Regions from separate parts of the Homo sapiens genome. Here regions 2 and 3 are each linked to region 1. Evidence: promoter capture Hi-C in human tissues and cell types (Jung and others, 2019). All regions are on one chromosome and are shown on one strand. The core of a region is centred on a gene start or on the middle of the fragment in contact, and the rest is flanking DNA. Distances in the headings are between cores, read along the strand shown.

Evidence for each region. Contacts are between HindIII fragments. The study calls those that stand out against the background at their distance.
Region 2: a contact is called between a fragment that was not itself captured here and the fragment with the promoter of ZDHHC22 in region 1, in 1 of the 25 tissues and cell types used here (dorsolateral prefrontal cortex).
Region 3: a contact is called between a fragment that was not itself captured here and the fragment with the promoter of ZDHHC22 in region 1, in 1 of the 25 tissues and cell types used here (dorsolateral prefrontal cortex).

Annotation. Positions count from the first base shown.
Region 1 is chr14:77,139,505-77,143,443 of GRCh38, forward strand. It overlaps ZDHHC22 (zDHHC palmitoyltransferase 22), which reads right to left and starts at 2,287. Exons shown (of 3, transcript NM_174976.2): 1 at 2,099-2,287; 2 at 1-248. The coding sequence starts at 234. RefSeq lists enhancers at 1-540, 678-1,241, 1,242-1,805, 1,900-2,401. The HindIII fragment of the contact is 26,670 bases long and covers 1-3,939 here.
Region 2 is chr14:77,618,764-77,622,702 of GRCh38, forward strand. No RefSeq gene overlaps it. Among named protein-coding and RNA genes, the nearest start is that of SPTLC2, 4.1 kb to the left of the region's middle. The HindIII fragment of the contact is 4,035 bases long and covers 74-3,939 here.
Region 3 is chr14:77,450,093-77,454,031 of GRCh38, forward strand. It overlaps VIPAS39 (VPS33B interacting protein, apical-basolateral polarity regulator, spe-39 homolog), which reads right to left. Exons shown (of 20, transcript NM_001193315.2): 2 at 3,918-3,939; 3 at 3,207-3,309; 4 at 1,095-1,241. Among named protein-coding and RNA genes, the nearest start is that of VIPAS39, 5.5 kb to the right of the region's middle. The HindIII fragment of the contact is 5,877 bases long and covers 1-3,939 here.

The DNA.
Region 1 (3,939 bases), core at 1,037-3,536:
GGCCCCCAGGTCGTCTGGGGAGTTCTGGATGACAAGGACGTAATTGCCCAGGGCGTTGGCCGAGAGGAATAGGAAGAGCGCCCCGTGGAGCAGGGCGGGCGAGAAGAGCCGGGCGGCCGCGGGGTCCTCGCGCATGCTGGGCAGGAAGAGGAAGAGCTGCAGCACGAAGGTCACCAGGGAGATGCACAAGAAGTAGGCGGGGGCCACCACGTTGAGCAGCCGCAGGGCCAGCATCCTCGATTACATTCCTGCGGGGCCCGGGGTGAGAAGAGGACTGACTGACTACGGCGTCCAGGGGGCGCCCTCGCCCGCTCCTCCGTGCCGCGCGTCTGGGGCACTGCACGCGACTCCACGCCCCCAACCCCCTGTCCCGCGGATTTCCCCTCCCCAGTTCCCTAACCCCGGATCAGGCAGGCCAGAGACCCGAGCCCGCAGCGGCCTCGGGTCTAGGCCCCACCTGGGGGTGAGTGTTGCCTGGGGTTTTGAGCGAGCTCGGCGCCTTGGCGCGGCAGAGTCTGGCACAGGAGGGAGGGACTCGTTTGCAGTCTTTAGGAGTTGTGAGGGTGGGGGGCACCGGGGGATAGGACTCCTCCCCTCTGTGGATGTGGAAACAAGCCCAGGTTTGGGATTTCTGGTTCAGACCTCCCTAGGAGGAGAAAGGGAAGGATTTGGGGTCGGGGGCAGGAGAATCAGCGGCACTTGACCTGCTGGAAATCCTGCTTCACACTCCCCTTTCTCCGTCCCTGCGTCCCCACCCACACACACATCTTGGGCAGCACTCAGGGACCTCACCAGGTTACCCAAGGCTCTTTGGAGGTATGTGTGCGTGAGGGACCACGATGTGTGTGTGTGTGTCCTTGTCTGTGACTCTGTACGTGTAATCTGTGTGCGCTTGAGTATCTGTATTTGTGTATGTATATATCTGCGTGTACAGACACGCAGCCTCTGCTATCTAGCTTTAAAAAAATCAATTGAAACAATCGATACACTCACACTCGCTCTCGGGCACCGGGTGAGGTGGGGGCGCAACCAGAATACCTGTGTCAGCGGGTCCTGGCCAGCACATCTCTCCAACGCTGGCTGCCCGGGCTATTTCTTTGCGAAGAGCGTTTTCATTTGAGGCGAAATTAAAATCCCCCCTTCGCGCCCGCCTCCCGCCCTCCTGCTGAGAGAAACCCAAACAACCCTCATGGCGCCGAAATCCTTTCCATGCCGACAAGCCCGCCCTGGGCGCACGAGTGGATGCTTGGCCAGCCTTTCCTGGGATCGACCCCGCCGCCGTGCTCAGCCCTCACCACGTCCCCATCCCACCCCACGCCTCACAGCCGGGGTTCCTGGCCAGCTTCGGAAGCCACCGAGAAATAGGATTCCGTGCGCCCGAGAGAACTTTTCCAGGGGCTAAGGAATCGGCCAGCCGGAGGCGCGAGAAAAGTTCTGGGAAGGCGGTTGCACCTAGGATGGGTGGATGCCACGGGGCCTCCGTCCAGGCTGTCCCGTCCGCACGGGTCGACTGGTCACCTTGGAATCCCCTTTGCAGGTCCCAGCGCCCCCCGGGAACCCGCAGCCTCCGCGGAGAGCGTGGGCCTCTCCCTACCGCTGGGGCGCAGCGCAGTGCACGCCTGAGGGTGGTCGCCGGGGGCTGGGCACGCCCCCAGTCCTGCGCCGCCGGGGGCTGCGGCGGTGCTGCCCACCCCAGAGAGCCCTCGGCCTGGGGCTCCGGCGAAGCAAGTGCCTTCCCGGCGCCGGTCGCCAGGGGGGCGCGGGAGCAGCCAGATGCGCCGCAGCGCTGGGAAGGCGGCGAAGGACAGGGGCTAGGGGAGTGAGGGGCGCTCGGCAGGCAGCCTCAGCCCTGGCCCTGCGCGGGAGAAGGGACAGCAGAGACCGCCCGTGGGGCCCCGGGGTGTAGGGAGCTGTCCGTTCAGCCCTGGCGCCCGCCTCGCCCGCGGCAGAGGGCGGCACAGCCGGAGCCTTGGAAAGACCGGCAGCGCCGGCAGCCGCGGGCTTCTCGGCCACTGCCTCCCGGACGCACGGGAAGCCGCCCCCCGCGCCGCCGCCGCCGCACTGCCGCCGTCGCAGAGGGGTGAGGAAATCAACTCACCGAGCTCTGGTCGCCGACAAGAGGAGCCCCGGACGCCGGCTCTCGCCCTGCCCGAGGCTGCAAAGTTGTGGACTCGGCCCGGCTGGCTCGCAGCCTGCGCTTCGCTTCGGGAACTGGGCAAGTAGCGGGGATGTGGGGAGGAGGGAGCGGGCAGCTGCTGGCTTCCCACTTGGGCGCCAGCGAGTAAGGGCCAGGAAGCGGCGGGGATGGCAGCTGGGCACCCCCCAGCCCCGCCACCCCTCCCTCCGCTCCTGGGGGCGGTGCTCTGGCCGCCAGTCTCAGCATCGTGGACTTGCCCCCTCCTCCCCTCTCGATTCCCCTTGAGCGGGCTGGGGCGCCCTGCCTGGTTTCAGCGCCCGTTCCAGCTGGGAGATTGGGATTCAGCCCTGATGTGGATTCTCCAGCCATCATCCTGCCCTTCCCTCTCGGCTAGGTCCCACGACCTTCCCTGCTCTCCACTCGGACTGAAGGAACCCTGGGGGCTTGAGAGGTCAGCTTGCCAGGGCAACACCCATGAAGATCAGCGTCATCTCCTCGGAAGGGCTGTGTACAGAGGGTTGGGAGTTGGGACTCTGGAGCCTGTCTACCTGGGTTTGAATATTCACCATTCACTACTGTGAGATCTCAGATTCCAGTTTCTTCGTCTGTAAATTCCAGTGTGATCTTAGATTCCAGTTTCCTCATCTGTGAAATAGAGATATGAGGGTTAAATGACAATCTATGTAAAACCCTTAAACAGGGCCTGCCCAGGGCAAGCACTGCTTGATTAGATCATAATTAGACACTACTTATCGGGCCCCTACTAGGTAGCAGGCATTGTGCTAAGCCTTTAGCATAAGATGCTTCCTTAATCCTCTCAGCCTGATCTGTGAAGCTGGCTGAGCCCCATTCTGGAGATGAGGAGGTTGAAGCTCAGAGAAGCTAAGTCTCATGTCTAAGGTCATACAGCCATTAAGTGACAGAGCCTGGACTTGAACCTGGTTCTAGCATTAATGCTCCTGCACTCAGCCTCTACACAGCCCAGCATCACCCTGGGACCCACGGGCAGCTCTGATTTGAGAGAAGGAAAGACAATGGGAGTTTATCCAGACACAGAGCTTGAACTTGGAGCTTCTTCTTTGAGCCTCACCCCCACCTTCTTATTTCTATTTCCTTCCCCTTCCAGGGCTCCGCTATTCTAAGGTGGGTACTGTGATGCGCCAAGAGGGTAGTGACACCAATGTGTATCAAACAGTGGGGGGTGGGGGGAGCAGAGCCTTAAAAACATCAAACACTGCAGGAATATTGGTGCCATCACCATCCTCAATTTCCTGGGTGTCGCAGCTCACCTACCTGCCCTGTTCCTCTCCTCTCGGTGATGGCATACTTAATAAATAAACATTTATTGCTTTCTCAACTGGCTGATTAAAACAAGAGCAATCCCTTGAAATGAGGGCCATATGCTGATCAGCTCAGCCTCTATTCTTGAATAACCACACACTGTTTCCTCTGTAATTTATCAGCATACATCAAAATAAAAAAGAGGCCAGGAAACCTTTTCACATTCTAAAAGGATCTGACATGTAAGTGAAAGAACAGTATATGCCACATGGTGGCCGTGAGCAGCTGGTAGCCTTGTGAGTTCCAGTGGCCACAGGACAGACATGGGGAGGCACACATGGCCCTTTTCCCTTCAGAGCAGCTTTGTCTCATAATCGTGGCCGTCTGGGCCCCTTTTCACAAGCTCTGTCTGCCTCTCACATGGGCTTGGCAGGGAGGGAGGCTGGCTGGGGTGCTTGGGTTTGGGTATACTGACTGAAGATCTCCATTCCCCAAATACCTTGTGAGTCGGGTGGTATTTC
Region 2 (3,939 bases), core at 841-3,340, 480 kb after region 1:
TGCAGTAGGCAGTAGGAAACACCCCAGACTCCATGTAAACAGGAAAACAACTCCTTCCAGAAACATAAGCCGCTTAATCATCATTTTACAGTGTTCATATGCAAAGTTCTGTGCTAGGCACCAGGAAGACAACCCTTCTCTTCCTTCAAGATTGCTCAAACCACTTCAACTGTGAAGCCTGTTTTGAACCCCAACCTCCCCACAAAATTAGTTGCTTTCTCCTCTGTGAGCTTTATACACACCTGTGTAAGCATGTATCACACTGCTTTGAGATTCTTTGAGAGGGAGGTTACACAATGCTTAGAAGCAAGAGCTCTGCAGTCAGATATACCATAATTGAAGACCGGTTTCAGCACCTAGAATCCTTATGATTTAGGCAAAGCTGCCTAACCTCTCTATGACTCAGGTACTTCTTCTGTAAAATGGGATATACCTCATAGAGTTGGAGAATTAACAAAAGCATTTAGTGCCAAGACCTGTTACATAATATTAAATGAGTGTTGGTAATTATTCATTGGATAAATGAAGTACTTATTAAGTGAATGAATGATTGATTGAATACATTTATACTTACAATTAGGCAACAAGCTTGGTGAGTTGAGGGGATTGTCTAATTTATCTTTGGGTTCCCAGTACCTACCACGTGTCTGTCACATAGCAAATGCTCAATAAATGTTTGATGAATGCATAAATGGATAAATGAATTAAAATTTGGCCTTGGCTGGACATGGTGGCTCACACTTGTAATCTCAGCACTTTGGGAGGCCGAGGTAGATGGATCACGTGAGGCCAGGAGTTCGAGACCAGCCTGACCAACATGGTGAAACCCCGTCTCTCCAGAAAATACAAAAATTAGCCGGGCGTAGTGGCACATGCCTGTAATCTCAGCTACTTGGAGGCTGAGGCACAAGACTTGCTTGAACTTGGGAGGCAGAGGTTACAGTGAGCCGAGATTGTGCCACTGCACTTTAGCCTGGGTGACAGAGAGAGACTCTGTCTCAAAAAAAAAAAAAAAAAAAAATTTTGGCCTTGTCTCCAAGGAACCTTCTATCACATGGAGACTGTGTTAATTGAGGTTCTTTGGTTGCAGATAACATAAGCCAATTTTAAAAAACTTATTCAAGAAAGGTAAATTTATTGGAACTCTCCTGAAGACAGGGAAGTGTTGGCACTCAGGAAAATCCTAAACCTCAGCAGCAGAAAATTATAGACCTTCCTTCCTCCTAACCAAACCACTTCTGGTGCTTAGCTCTCAACAACCTACAACTTTCATATTCATGAGGTCAAACTTCTACACTCTCAGGAAAAAGAAATCTGATTGGCCTAGCTTATGGTGAGGATGGGTAAATCTGACCAATCGCAATGGCCAGAGCACAAGGTCAAACTGCTGGAGGGGAGGAATCAGTTATAGACAAGGAAGAATCATAGCAGAGAAGGGAGGAACAACCCTAACAGTGTTCACTACAAGGAGATAGAACCCGGGAGTGAAAAGGACAAATAGCAATAGCTTAGAATGGATGTTAAAGAAGGAGGCTGGCGGGTGCAGTGGCTCACACCTATAATCCCAGCACTTTGGGAGGCCGAGGGGGTCGGATCACCTGAGGTCAGGAGCTCGAGACCAGACTGGCGAACATGGTGAAACCCCCATCTCTACTAAAAATACAAAAATATTATCCAGCGTGGTGGCGGGCGGGAGGCTGAGGCAGGAGAATCGCTTGAACCCGCGAGGTGGAGGTTGCAGTGAGCCGAGATCGCGCCATTGCACTCCAGCCTGGGCAATAAGAGCAAAACTCCGTCTCAAAAACAAAAACAAACAAACAAAAAACCCAAACAAGTAGCCAAGCCTCAGGCAATCACAGAAGCCATACTTCAACCACTCAACAGGCAGCCAACTGTTCAGTGTTCAAATAAGGCAAATGCCAAGCTATAACCATTCCAACTGTTTCTGTGTCTCACTTCTGTTTTCTGTATGTTGCTTTCCTTTTTCTATTCATAAATCCTGTCTCACCATGTGACAGTGCTGGAATCTCTCTGAACCTTCTGATTCTGGATGGGGGCTGCCCAATTTGAGGATCATTATTTGCTCAGTTAAATTCTGTTAAATTTAATTTATTTCTTTTTTTCTTTTCTTTTCTTTTCTTTTCTTTTTTTTTTTTTTTTAGGATGGAGTTTCGCTCCTGTTGCCCAGGCTGAAGCGCAATGGCACGATGTCGGCTCACTGCAACCTCTGCCTCTTGGGTTCAAGTGATTCTTCTGCCTTAGCCTCCCAAGTAGCTGGGATTACAGGCTCCCGCCGCCACACCTGGCTAATTTTTGTATTTTTAATAGAGACAGGGTTTCACCACATTGGCCAGGCTGGTCTTGAACTCCTGATTTCAGGCGATCCACCCACCTAGGCCTCCTAAAGTGCTAGGATTACAGGCGCGAGCCACTGTGCCCGGTCTAAATTTAATTTCTTTGAATTTTTTCTCTTAGCAACACCCCTGCCAAAATAAATGACTTCTAACTACCCCTTCCATTGTTGGGTCACTTGGTCAAGAGTCAAATACTGGAGAGAATATCTGCTTGTTTGAGTTTACGTCGCACTGGTCCTAAAAGGTGCAAACAAAAGGAAAAAGTGTCCTTCACCTTTCATGATGGGAGGTGCTTACCAAGACACACCCTCTTAAGAAGAGTACGTTAAATGAGAAGAGATGATTTCCCAAAGGGAAATGGGGGACTTAATAGAAAAAGGGAATGGACACTGGGCAGGCAGAAATGGCCAATGTCCTTTATATCAGTCAAGGCTGCAGATGAATCACAAGATAGAGTTGTGTATTGTGGTAGGCACATGTAATCTTAGCTCTTCAGGAGGCTGAGGCAGGAGGAACACATGAGCGCAGGAGTTCAAGACCAGCCTGGGCAGCATAGCAAGACCCCATCTCAAGAAAAAAGAAAAAAAAGAAGAACCACAAGATGGAATGGAAAGGGCCCTTCAGAAGTAATCTGCTTTTGCACAAAAACCAGAGATAGATGATGCAGAGGTATTATTTGAACCTGACTCTGAGAGCATCATTTGGTCTTCCCTTTTCTTTTTCTTTCTTTCTTTTCTTTTTTTTCTTTTTTGAGATGGAACTTCACTCTGTTGCCCAGGCTGGAGTGTAGTGGTGTGATCTGAGCTCACTGCAATCTCTGCCTTCTGGGTTTGAGCGATTCTTGTATCTCCCAAGTAGCTGGAATTACAGGTGCATGCTACCATGCCCAGCTAATTTTTGTATTTTTAGTAGAGACGGGGTTTTGCCATCCTGGCCAGGCTGGTCTTGAACTCCTGACCTCAAGTGATCCACCCACCTTGGCTTCCCAAAGTGTTGGGATTACAAACATGAGCCACCATGCCTGGCCTGGTCTTCCCTTTTCAAACTTTTCTTGCTTCATTCATTCATTTATCTATTAGGCCAATCACACAAGTATTTTTTGCTGGCCATCATGTTGGGTACTGCAAATACAATGACAAATAGAAAGAAACATGGTATTTGCACTTGTAGAGCTTTCAGTCTTGATTTACAAGAAATGCGTCTGCTCTTTCCCCTTTCATTATTCCTAATCTAATAGAGTAAGTGAAATAGACTAATTCTCTCCCTGGGTTTCTGATCCTACTTTTGTGGAAAATCTTGGATGCTGTTTTTGGACTATTTTCAGTGGCAATATTTGCATCCACAAAACTGGGCAGGTCCTGGGACAAGAGTTTAGAATTGCATTATGACCCTGAGGCCTGAGCTATTTAAATGAATGTTTGCATGCAAACATGAAGCTTTAAGAGGAATGATGGTTTCTGATTATACACCTCCAGGGTGCCAGCTAAGCACTTAGTAGAGATTTTAATCTGTACCCAACAAAGCGTTTGCAATGGGAGTTCTGCAATAATACAGATGAGTGCTCCAGGAATGGGCAGCCAGAGCT
Region 3 (3,939 bases), core at 639-3,138, 310 kb after region 1:
CTTTAACCAACTCTACACCCTTTAAACAATAACTCTCCATTCCCTCCACCCCAGCTCTTGGTAACCACCATTCTACTTCCTGTCTCTATGAATCTGACTATTCTAGGTCATACGTAAATGGAGTCATACAATATTTGTCCCTTTGTGCCTCATTTTATTTAGTATCACATCCTCAAGGATCATCCATATGGCAGCATGTATGGGAATGTCGTTCTTCTTTAATGCTGAGTAACATTCCGCTGCATGTATATGGCACATTTTGTTTATCCATTCATCCATCAATGGACATTTGGGTTGTTTCCATCTTTTGGCTATTGTGAATAATGCTACTATCAACATGGAGGTACAAATATATGTTCAAGTACCTGCTTTCCATTCTTTTTGAGATATACCCAGAAGTAAAATTGCTAGATCATATGTTATTTATTTATTTATTGAGATGGAGTTTTGCTCTGTCACCCAGGCTAGACTGCAGTAGTGCAATCTCGGTTCACTACAACCTTTGCCTCCCAGGTTCTAGCAATCTGCCTCCCTCAGCCTCCTGAGCAGCTGGGATTACAGAAGCCCCCACCATGCCCGGCTAATTTTTGTATTTTTAGTAGAGACGGGGTTTCACCATATTGGTAGGCTGGTCTAGAACTCTTGACCTCAGGTGATCCACCTGCCTCAGCCTCCCAAAAGTGCTGGGATTACAGGCGTGAGCCACCACGCCTAGCCAGTTATATGTTTACTGTTTAATTTTTTTTAAAAAACCACCATACTGTCTTCCACGGTGGCTGCACCATTTGGCATTCCCACCAACAAGGTTTTCCAACAGCAATGCACAAGGAGTAGGGAGGAATTTTGATCTAGGCAAATTTTTTCAGTACCAGTCACAGGGTTAATGTCAATTTCATTCATCATGCTATAGAAAACCAGTCCAACTCCTCTGAATTTCTCTCATTTATCTCGCTCCTAACACCCAGCTGCCACCTCCAATGAGAATGCTTTACCCTTCAATAATCTTTTTCTTACAAAGTAAATGAAAATTATGGCCTAAGATTTTTCTGGAAAAAGAGAAGGACTTCCCTATCCATTTAAGCATCTCTCTTTACCTCTAAAAAAGCTGCTCAGGGAGTAGGTAGAAGTAGGCTTGGGTAGTTGTGCATAGGAGGAGAAGCTGTTTCGGCTCTTTAGCTGTTCACGCCCCTCGTGGGTTGAGCCGCTATTACCAGCAGTCTCTCTGATGGACCATGAGATACCTGTGAGATAGTAAGAACTACATCAGCAATTCTCATCCACAATAAAGCCTTGACATCCAACATTCAATAAACTCTAAAAGCTTTTCACCAGAAGCCCTGGTCCCTTGGCCAACTTGGGGCAGGGAGAAAAGATAGAATCAAATAGACTAATCAGCAGAAAAATGGACCAAGGACATGAATAGGTGGATCACAGAAAATTCAAATGGCTCTTCAACATATGAAAAGATGCTCAACCTTACTCTTTTTTCTCTTTTTTTCTTTTTTTTTAGAGACAGGGTCTCACTACATTGCCGGAGCTCTGGAGTACAGTGGCTATTCACAATCATATCTAACAGTCATGTCTCACGTCAGCCTCAACTCCTGGCCTCAAGCCATCCATCGCCACTACCCTCCAGAGGCACACACCACCTGCCCCCAGCTTTGCTAAGAGTACTACAAATTAAAAATATAATGAGAAACCATTAGTCCCCTATAAGATGGGGAAAGATCCAAAAGCTTGATAATACCGTGTTAGCCAGGCTATAGGGAAACTGGAACCCTCCTCCATTGCTGGTGGTAGTATGAATTGGTACAACCCCTGTGGAGGTCAATTTGGCAATATCTACCCAATACAGATGCAAACATCCTATGTGAGTAATTCCACTCTAAGAATTGCTCTTTCATTTATGCATCTATGGTCAGAATATAAAGTCAATGATAGAAATATAAAGAGCAAAAGATTGAAAAATCTAAAATTCAACAGTGGGCTGGCTAAAAAATGATGGTAAACCCATACAATTTAATACTATGCTGCTATTTAAAAAAAAGAAAGAGAAAATGAGAACACTCTTTATATACTGACATGGAAAGATCTCCAAGCTATATTAACACATAAAAAGAGCAAGGTATGAAGCATGCTACTGCTTGTGTAAAAATGGGATAAGAATACATGTTTCTATATACTTTTCCAGATGCAAAAAGAGTCTTTAGATGAATACACAGGAACCAAGCAACGATTGTTTTTTGGGAGGACATGAACTGAAAACTGAGAAGATACATAACAATATGGAACGGAAACTTTTCACTGTAGACCTTTAATTTTTTTTTTTTAATCTTTAGTCACATTATAGTATGGCCTATTTTTTAAAAACTTTCAATTAAAAATATTTCTTAAAAATCAGATGGGGACCAGGGATGGTGGCTCATACCTATAATCCCAGCATTTGGGAGGCCAAGGCAGGCGGATCACTTGAGGTCAGCAGTTCAAGACCAGCCTGGCCAACATGGTAAAACTCCATCTCTACTAAAAATACAAAAATTAGCCAGGCATGGTGGTTGGCACCTTTAATCCCAGCTACTAGGGAGGCTGAAGCATGAGAATCGCTTGAACCTGGGAGGCGGAGGTTGCAGTGAGTCAGGATCGCGCCATTGCACTCCAGACTAGGCAACAGAGTAAGACTCCATCTCAAAAAAAAAAAAAAAAAAAAATCAAATGGACTCTGAAAAAGTATTAAGTGGTATCATATACAGCTAAGCAGTGAGACTTGGTGGGTAAGGAAGTCCGTTCTGTCAATCAGTTATTAGTATACTGAGTCAAGTCAGTAGTTCCCAAATATGGCTATATATCAGAATCACCTGCAGTGTTTATTAAAATTTGAGACCCCCTCTACTCCGCAGAAGACCTAATGAACAGAATCTCTGGGATAAAGCCTAGGAGTATGTCATTTTAACAAGCACCCCAAATGAGAATGAAATAGCCAGCTAAGAGTCAACCCCTGAAGAGCAGACCTATATAGCCATGTGGGAACTCCTGCTGGATTTCCCAAGTATCTTCTCCTGGAGTTAAGTTTCCAGATGTATGCTTATCTGAAAATAGTCTTATCCTAGTCCCTCTCCTAACTAGCATTGAAGAAACAAACAAGTAGAGCCTTTATCAGTGATAAGAATCCTCAACATCTATCCCTGCCTAGGGACTCTTCTACTTACTTCCCACAGGTTCCCCACTCCAGCTGACTCGCTCCAGGTCATCATCGTCATCATCATCCACGAAGTCTCGGAGGCTGTTCACCGCCCGCTTGGACTCCTTTAACTGCAGAGGGACACAAGGCTAGGGTGCTCAGGCAAATCATCATTTCCCACCTCTCTTCTGACAATCAAGAAGGCTGAGGAATTGGGGCCTGAAGGTGGCCAACACTCGCCCTGTGCAATCGAAAGCCTAGCATACTACATATTTGCCAAGAAAACAAACTGATTTTTAGCCAACACTACAGTCCAGTGATAAAAGAGTTAGGAGGAATCAAAGTCACTTTTGAATTCTCATCATATTCCTGGCAGTGACTTGCTATGTAAACCTGAGTGAATTTATTCACCTCTCTAAAAATAAATGATTCCTCAATTGCAAAATAGACACAACAAAGATAAATCTTCCAATCCAGTTCATCTTTCAAAAATAAAAAAATATATATCACATAAATAAAAGACTTGGGGTTCTTCAAAAGAAAAAAAAACCTGTAGGAATAAATCATCTTAAAAAGGTAAAGTAAGAAAGGCAGTGAGCTGGATTTTACAATCCTTCTGGCTCTTTTCTGAGCCTAATGAAGACATACATGGTCAAAAGCCTAGTTACCCAGAATGCAAGAGGAAGGAATTTTATAGTGGCACTGTGGAGAAGAGTACAAACTTCAGCAGTTGACCTACCTGTGAAAGCTCATCGTCTTCA